Linked DNA regions of Homo sapiens: all the other regions are linked to region 2. The links are contacts of gene promoters, found by promoter capture Hi-C in blood cells and fetal thymus (Javierre and others, 2016). All regions are on one chromosome and are shown on one strand. The core of a region is centred on a gene start or on the middle of the fragment in contact, and the rest is flanking DNA. Distances in the headings are between cores, read along the strand shown.

Region 1 (2,700 bases), core at 35-2,534, 160 kb before region 2:
CCATACATGTTCATTTCCTTCCTGCTCCGCTCCTTACTTTGGCAATGTATCTGTTATGGCATTGAGTTATTTCATTAGAGGCTTTACAGAGAAGAGCTTTACCCCCCAGCAATTTAGAGTCTGTTTTGGATTACAAATTAGGTAAGTGTTTCCATATCACAAGGGCTTTCACAAAATTCTCAGATTATTAAAGTTTAATTTATTTAATAGTAACCCAAAATAGTTCTTTTGGGGCCTGTCCTTAATAATAATGACAATAATAATGCTACCTGTTGTGTAGCACTTTTTAAGGCAGATGAATAATATGTATTTCATTTAAGTTGTTTAGCAACTCAGTGGACTGTGAAGAACAAATACAATTTCAGTTTTATGGATGAGGTAACAGGCCAATGAAATAGGACACTGGGATTGTGTAAACATCTCCAAATCAGACTACACTAATAGGTCAGTCACTTTAAAAAATACTTAGAATTCTATGGGTTAGGTGTACGTGTCAATCTAAATGTATAGAAAGATTTCCTCAATGGAGCAGACAATGTTAAGCACTTTATAAATCAAAGAGCTGTTACTGTTGCATGGCACAGGCAGAGTTATGTCTATTATGTGATAAATCACAGTGGTTGTTCCAGTATTCACATTTGGGGATGACAGCTATAGCTTTGTGGCACACAGCAGCAGGTTGATTTCACCAAGCTGTTGATAGGGAAATGAAACAAGCTTTAAATATGTACTATGTGTCCATCTGTACTCTCCATGATAAATAATCCCCTTTTTACTATTCCTTTGTGTGAACTTCTGTCCTTTCAATGATGCCTTTTGTCTTTATTTTTCTTGAATAAAATTATTACTCAGGGACTCTGGAAGAACTGATTGTGATTTTCCTCTAGGGATTTAAAGATAGCCCTACATGTAGGTTACTGTTTAATCAAATCAGTATAGGTCATTCTTAAAACTACTGAGTTAAGGAGGAGCAGATTGTTTATCCTAGGAAGTTATTCTGCCTATGTGAGTATATAAAATGCGAATTTCAGTCAATTTGGGCTATAAGGTCTGGAGAAGAACTCTTCTTAGTTATGAAAATGTTAGCATTAATTTTAATAATGAATTTATGTGTTTATTGTTGTTTTTTTTCAACCTTTGTCAAGGAGTGGATTTTTTGTCTTTTTTTTGAAGGTGGTCTTAGATTAACTTCTGTAAAATTTGTTTCGTATTTAAGTCTTTTTTTTTTTTTTTTTTTTTGAGACGGAGTCTTGCTCTGTCACCAGGCTGGAGGGCAGTGGCGCAGTCTTGGCTCACTGCAACTTCAGTCTCCTGGGTTCAAGTGATTCTCGTGTCTCAGCCTCCCAAGTAGCTGGGATTACAGGCACACGCCACCATGCCTGGCTAATTTTTGTATTTTTAGTAGAGATGGGGTTTCACCATGTTGGCCAGGCTGGTCTTGAACTCCTGACGTTGTGATCCGCCTGCCTCGGCCTCCCAGAGTGCTGGGATTACAGGCGTGAGCTGCCATACCCAGACCGTATTTGAGTCTTGAAGAAAGCATTCTTTCTTATTGGTCTTAACTAAAGGGTCTTTTATATTAAAAAATTAGAAACAATTGTAAGATATTTTAGAGGCTACAGAGTAGTCTTGTTACCAGTCCATGTCATACTTCAATATTTGTACAAAAAGACGGTACATGTAATCTAAAAGAGTAGGTATTGCCAAGTAAATTGTATTTGGATTTGATATACTAATATTATTTTAATTGTTAATAAGAAAAAGAACCTTATGGCCAGGGATAGGAGGAAGGGGATTTAATAAAGAATGAGAGTTATTACATTGGATTGAAATAGGTTATCAAAAGCTTAGAGACGATACCAGGAAAATTCTCTTTGGGTTATATTAGTAAAGTTTGTAGGAATAAGCTGGGCACAGTGGCAGGGCACTTGTAATCCTAGCTACTTGGGAGGCTAAGGTGGGAGATTGCTTGAGTCCAGGAGTTTGAGCCTTGCCTGGGCAACAGAGAGACTCTGTCCCTTTCTTTTTTTTTTTTTTTTTTGAGACAGAGTCTTGCTCTGTTGCCCAGGCTGGATTGCAGTAGTGTCATCTCGGCTCACTGTAACCTCCGCCTCTTGGGTTCAAGCGATTCTTTTGCCTCAGCCTCCTGAGTAGCTGGGATTACAGGCATGCGCCAGCACGCCCAGCTAATTTTTGTATTTTTAGTAGAGATGGGGTTTCACCATATTGGCCAGGCTGGTCTTGAACTCCTGACCTCAAGTGATCCACCTACCTCGGCCTCCCAAAGTGTTGGGATTACAGGCCTGAGCCACCGCTCCTGGCAAAGACTCTCTTAAAGAAAAAAAAAAAAAAAAAAAAAAAAAAAAGAATTGGTAGGGGTAACTGGATATAAGGTGGTGGACTATTTACAGGATACCATAAGCCATAAGCTCATGGTCCATAGTTGATATGTATTAGAAGTAGAAGATTAGTGGAAACAATTAATTAATTTTGAACATAAATGAAGCATACAAAAGGGAAATTTGGCATACTTAGAAGTGTCATCAAAGAGACTTAAAAAAAATAAAGGGACTGGGTGTGGTGGCTCACGCCTGTAATCCTAACACTTTGGGAGGCCGAGGTGGGCAGATTGCCTGAGCTCAGGAGTTCGAGACCAGCCTGGGCAACGTGGAGAAACCCCGTCTCTACTAAAATACAAAA
Region 2 (2,700 bases), core at 82-2,581:
TTTTGTAGAGACGGGGTTTCTCCATGTTGGTCAGGCTGGTCTCGAACTCCTGACCTCAGATGATCCGCCCACCTCGGCCTCCCAAAGTGCTGGGATTACAGGCGTGAACCACTGCGCCCGGCTTTTTTTGTTTTTGAGACAGAGCCTTGCTTTGTTGCCCAGGCTGGAGTGGTGGCACGATCTCGGCTCACTGCACCCTCCGCCTCCGAGGCTCAAGAGATTCTCCTGCCTCAACCTCCCCAGGAGCTGGGATTACAGGCGCGCGCCACCACGCCTGGCTAATTTTTTTTTTTTTTTTTTTTTTTTGGTAGAGACGGGGTTTCACCATGTTGGCCCGGCTGTTCTCGAACTCTTGGCCTCAAGTGATCTGCCAGCATCGGCCTCCCAAAGTTCTGGGATTACAGATGTGAGCCACCGCGCCCGGGCCCAGAGGTTTTTAAAATGCAAAAACAAATACATATACTTTTGTTTCCCTTCCTTCATTAAACTTCGCTTTTTTTTAAAAAAGAAAAAAACCCGTATACGTTGGAGGTCACTTTATATTGGTACTGTGAAATCATCCTCCTGTTTTATAAGCCGCGTGTTTACTTATAAGCACTCCACGGGTTAGTCAACTCATTGGAGCAAGCGTTTTGAAGTGTGGCAGATTGACAGTCCACCTGAAATCAGAATAACTGAGTTCAAATCCTGACTACACCATTTAACTCGTCGTTTCATCTTGAGCAAGTCCTTTACCATTTTTGTGTCTCAGTTTTCTCATCTGTAAAATGAGGCTGTTGTGGAAAAGACAGTAGACAGCTCACTGGGCTGTCATGAGCAACACATGAATTCACACATTTAAAGTGCTTATGACAGTGCATGGCGCATACGAAGCCCTCAAGTTAAATAAAAATCGGGGTAGGTGGGAGCGATGGAGATTTATAACAGCTTCCGGTAAATGTCGAGGCACAGTATTTCCAGAGCTTGTGCGAAGTAGGGAACCCAACAGCTCTCATGGCCTCGAAAGAAGGGGGATCCTGTGTCCGGGAAGCTCGGCCGCAGTCCTGCAATGTCTAGGGCAGCGGTGAGAGCGCTGTGGCTGGCTCAACGCAGCCCGACACCAGGGAAGACGCTCTGGCCCTCAGTTTCCCGGCAGCAAAGGAGCGCGAGGTGGTCTCCACTTTCAGCCTACTCGGTCCGGGGTTGCGAACTGTAAGGTCTGAGTTGCTGCGGCGCAGGCAGCGGAGACCAAGCAGGGATCTTAACAGGGTTTAGCGCCACGCGGGCCAGGGCCGAGGCCGGAGCTGGGAGGGGCGCGCCCGGGAAGGGGCGGAGCTGCGGCGGTGGCGCCAAATCGCAAATATGGCGCCGGAGCGGCTGCGGAGCCGGGCGCTCTCCGCCTTCAAGTTGCGGGGCTTGCTGCTCCGTGGGTGAGTGGGCTCGGGCAGCTTGAAGGGCGAGAGGGAAGAGCTGGGGCCCGTCTGCCTGGTGCGGCAGCGGGACGCACCGCGGCGGCTCCCCGCGCGCCGAGAGGGGGCTTGACCTTAAATTTCAGAGTTCTAAGAAGCGGTCGGGCGCGGTGGCTCACGCTTGTAATCCCAGCACTTTGGGAGGTCGAGGCGGGCGGATCACGAGGTCAGGAGATCGAGACCATCCTGGCCAACATGGTGAAGCCCCGTCTCTACTAAAAATACAAAAATTAGCTGGGCGTGGTGGCGCGCGCTTGTAGTCCCAGTTAGTTGGGAGGCTGAGGCAGGAGAATCGCTTGAACCCGGGAGGAGGAGGTTGCGGTGAGCCGATATCGTGCCACTCTACTCCATCCTGGCGACAGAGAGAGACTCCATTAAAAAAAAGTTCTAAGAAGCGAGGTGGATCTTGAGGCTGCCGTGCCTTCTTTGGTTTCCCCGACCCATGCGAGGAGTTTAATGTTTCTTCTAGGCGGGCCGAGGCTCTTCTGCACATGTCAAACTGAGCCCGAGAAGCTGCAACCTATCTATGGCAGCCGGTTATCAACATTGTGACCTGGACAGCTCTCAGGCTCCCGGGAAGGTTGCTGAGACATAAGATGAGAGACCCGAGAAAGCCCACTTGCACGTCTGCAGTTGCCAATTTATGTGAAAGTCAGGTTTCCTGGGCATATCCGTGTTTTTGAGGACCTATAGAACATATGAACCTTCCCAAGATTTCTCTCATTAAATCTGCTCCGTGTTTTAGAGTTCTATATGTACGTGTGTGTGTGTGTGTGTGTGTGTGTGTGTGTGTGTGGTGTGTGTGTATATATATATATGTATTTTTTTTTTTTTGAGTCATGGTCTCACTCTCGCCCAAGCTGGAGGGCAGTGATGCGAACTTGACTTACTGCAGCCTCAACCTCCTGGGCTGAAGTAGCTGGGACTGCAGGCATGGGCCACCATACCTGGCTGATTTTTTGTTGTTGTATGTTTTTTAGAGACGGGGTCTGGCTATGTTGCCCAGGCTGGTCTTGAACTCCTGGGCTCAAGTAGTCCTCGCGCCGTGGCCTCCCAGAATGCTGGAATTACAGGCGTGAACCACTGCGCCTGACCTAGAACACAATATTTTATACATATTGAAATACCTGCTGGATTGGATATACCTCTCTGTATCAGTTTTTATTGCTTTTGTGTGTGTAGATTTTTGGTTGGTTTTGTGAGTTTTATGGGACTTTTAACTGTGCTTTGGGAGATGCCTTGGGAGAAAATA
Region 3 (2,700 bases), core at 133-2,632, 140 kb before region 2:
TCGTTCTCCCAAACTTTACTTTTGTGCCATAGGAAAAAATGTCTTGATTTCTGCCTGTTTGAATAATGCCAAGGGTATTAGGGGTATATCTTATATACACAGTAACCTGTAATCAAAATACCTTTCTATATAAGGAGTGGGAGTTAGGAAGACAGGAGAAGTAATTTTGGGGCATGGAACGCATTGTAGTGGGATAGGCCTAGGGTGGTAGACTATGGGAACTTCAGCTAGCTAGATAACAGCATAGATGGGGTCAGGATAGTGAGTGTTGGGAAGTAAGAGAGGGATGTCATGAGGTAGGAGAAATCTAATTTTTAAAAAATCTGTTTTGCCAATAAAAGGAAAAGCAAGCATTGAAGAAATTAGATAATGTTCGAAAGGATCACGAAAACAGATTGGAAGCTCTTCAGCAGGCTCAGGTATTATGTTTGGCTTTCTCAGTGCTTTTTCAAAAATGTTAACTTTAACTGGCAATGTAGTAAATGTGTGTGGTTTGTTTTTTAAGGAAATAGACAAACTGAAAGGAGAGCTCATAGAAATGAACCTACAAATAGTTGACAGAGCCATTCAGGTAGTTCGAAGTGCTTTAGCTAACCAGATAGATTGGACAGAAATTGGGTTAATTGTGAAAGAAGCCCAGGCTCAAGGAGACCCTGTTGCAAGTGCAATCAAAGAATTAAAACTACAAACAAACCATGTTACAATGCTGCTAAGGTAAGTTTGACTCTTAGTCAAGCAGTTAATGCTTGTCTTTATTTTGTTATTTTAATTGTTCACTGTATTAAACATTTTTTCTTCATATTTTGAAATTCTCAAAGAAAGGGAAAAAACTAATTTAGATTAAAATAAATAATGAAACTTCCAGTACTGTAAACCATTTATAATTTTATTGAAGAAGAAAATTGAAAATAAAAGTGATGTCATTGACGTTAGTGAAATGCTATTGAATATTTTTAATAGAAATCCATACTTGTTATCAGAGGAGGAAGATGATGATGTTGATGGTGACGTCAATGTTGAGAAAAATGAAACTGAACCACCAAAAGGAAAAAAGAAAAAACAAAAGAATAAACAGCTGCAGAAGCCTCAGAAAAATAAGCCCTTACTTGTAGATGTTGATCTCAGCTTGTCAGCATATGCCAATGCCAAAAAGTAAGTCATTTAACTTTACATTTTAGGCCAAGTGTTATCTGCAATAAATTAAGGAATTAAGGACATTTTAAAAAATTTTAAATTTCACTTGTACATGCATACTTTTTTTGGGTGAAAATACTTTTTTAAATTTAGTTTTGTTAATTATACAGTTTGTTCTGATTTGTTCTGTATAATTTGAGAATTTGTCAAGTTAGAACTAAGTAGAAAACTGAAGAATAAATATTATACTTAAAATTTAAGAGAAATATGTTTTTCTAGGTATTATGATCACAAGAGATATGCTGCTAAGAAAACACAAAAGACTGTTGAAGCTGCTGAGAAGGTACTGAGTATTTCTTAGAGTGAATGTTAGTTGTTTGTGCCTGCGTAATTTAATGGACATAATTATTTCTTCTGTTTAAATGAGGTTTTCTAATTCAGAAGTATCTTTCAAACTTAACTTTGCTTTAAATATATGTATTTCCAGTATTTTTTCCCCCCAGGACTGCTCCTCCCCTATTCTTCCTCATCTCAGTAAATAACACCTTCATTTTTCTGTTCACTCAGGTTAAAAATGTTTGTGATATCCTGGACTCTTTTCCCATAAATCATGCAATCCATCAGTAAATCCTTTGGTTCTTTCTTTAAAGTACAGCCAGAATCTGGCTACTACTCATTATTTCCACTGATCAGTCCCCTATCACCTCTGTGTTCACATGGACTATGACAAGTAGCCTCTTATTGGATCTCTCTCCTCCTCCTCTTTTCCCACTACAGTCTGTTCTCCACATAGCAGCCATTGTGACCCTTTTTTTTTTTTGCGATGGAGTTTCACTCTTATTGCTCAGGCTGGAGTGCAATGGCTTGATCTCAGCTCACTGCAACTTCTGCCTCCCAGGTTCAAGCGATTCTCCCACCTCAGCCTCCTAAGTAGCTGGGATTACAGGCGCCCGCCACCACACCCAGCTAATTTTTGTAGTTTTAGTAGAGACAGGGTTTCACCATGTTGGTCAGCTTGGTCTCAAACTGCTGACCTCAGGTGATCCGCCCGCTTCAGGCCTTGACCTTCGGCCTCCCAAAGTGCTGGGATTACAGGTGTGAGCCACCATGCCTAGCCCCGTTGTGATCCTTTTGAATCAAAAGTGAAGACTGGGTGTGGTGGTTGACGCCTGTAATTCCAGCACTTTGGAAGGCCGAGGCCGGTGGATCGCTTGAAGCCAGGAGTTTGAGACCAGCCTGGCCAACATGGTGAAACCCCATATCTACTGAAAATACAAAAATTAGCCTGAGGTGATGGCGGGTACCTGTAATCCCAGCTACTTGGGCGGCTGAGGTGGGAGAATCTAATGAACCCGGGAGGTGGAGGTTGCAGTGAGCTGAGATCATGCCATTGCACTCTAGCCTGGGAGACAGAGCGAGACTCCGTCTCAAAAAATATATTAAAATAAATAAATCAAAAGTGAAGTCCTTTTTCTCTTCCAGTTGCTTCCCATCTTAATACAATTCAGAGCCCTTCTCCTATCCTGCAAGAAGGACGGGAGATCTCCTCCCCTCTGACCTCAACAC

The links. The method cuts DNA at HindIII sites, captures the fragments that hold promoters and counts their contacts. A CHiCAGO score of 5 or more calls a contact.
Region 1: a fragment that was not itself captured here is called in contact with the fragment with the promoter of POLE2 in region 2 in 1 of 17 cell types (erythroblasts); the score reaches 5.7 in erythroblasts.
Region 3: a contact is called between a fragment that was not itself captured here and the fragment with the promoter of POLE2 in region 2, in 2 of 17 cell types (megakaryocytes and erythroblasts). The highest score is 7.5, in megakaryocytes.

Annotation. Positions count from the first base shown.
Region 1 is chr14:49,847,373-49,850,072 of GRCh38, reverse strand. All of the region lies in intron 3 of NEMF (nuclear export mediator factor), which reads left to right. Among named protein-coding and RNA genes, the nearest start is that of NEMF, 4.1 kb to the left of the region's middle. The HindIII fragment of the contact is 1,129 bases long and covers 720-1,848 here.
Region 2 is chr14:49,686,845-49,689,544 of GRCh38, reverse strand. It overlaps POLE2 (DNA polymerase epsilon 2, accessory subunit), which reads left to right and starts at 1,331. Exons shown (of 19, transcript NM_002692.4): 1 at 1,331-1,409. The coding sequence starts at 1,342. RefSeq lists a silencer at 1,219-1,268 and enhancers at 573-1,332, 1,333-2,094. The HindIII fragment of the contact is 3,892 bases long and covers 1-2,700 here.
Region 3 is chr14:49,827,068-49,829,767 of GRCh38, reverse strand. It overlaps NEMF (nuclear export mediator factor), which reads left to right. Exons shown (of 33, transcript NM_004713.6): 12 at 342-419; 13 at 506-714; 14 at 961-1,152; 15 at 1,414-1,477. Among named protein-coding and RNA genes, the nearest start is that of NEMF, 24 kb to the left of the region's middle. The HindIII fragment of the contact is 5,222 bases long and covers 1-2,700 here.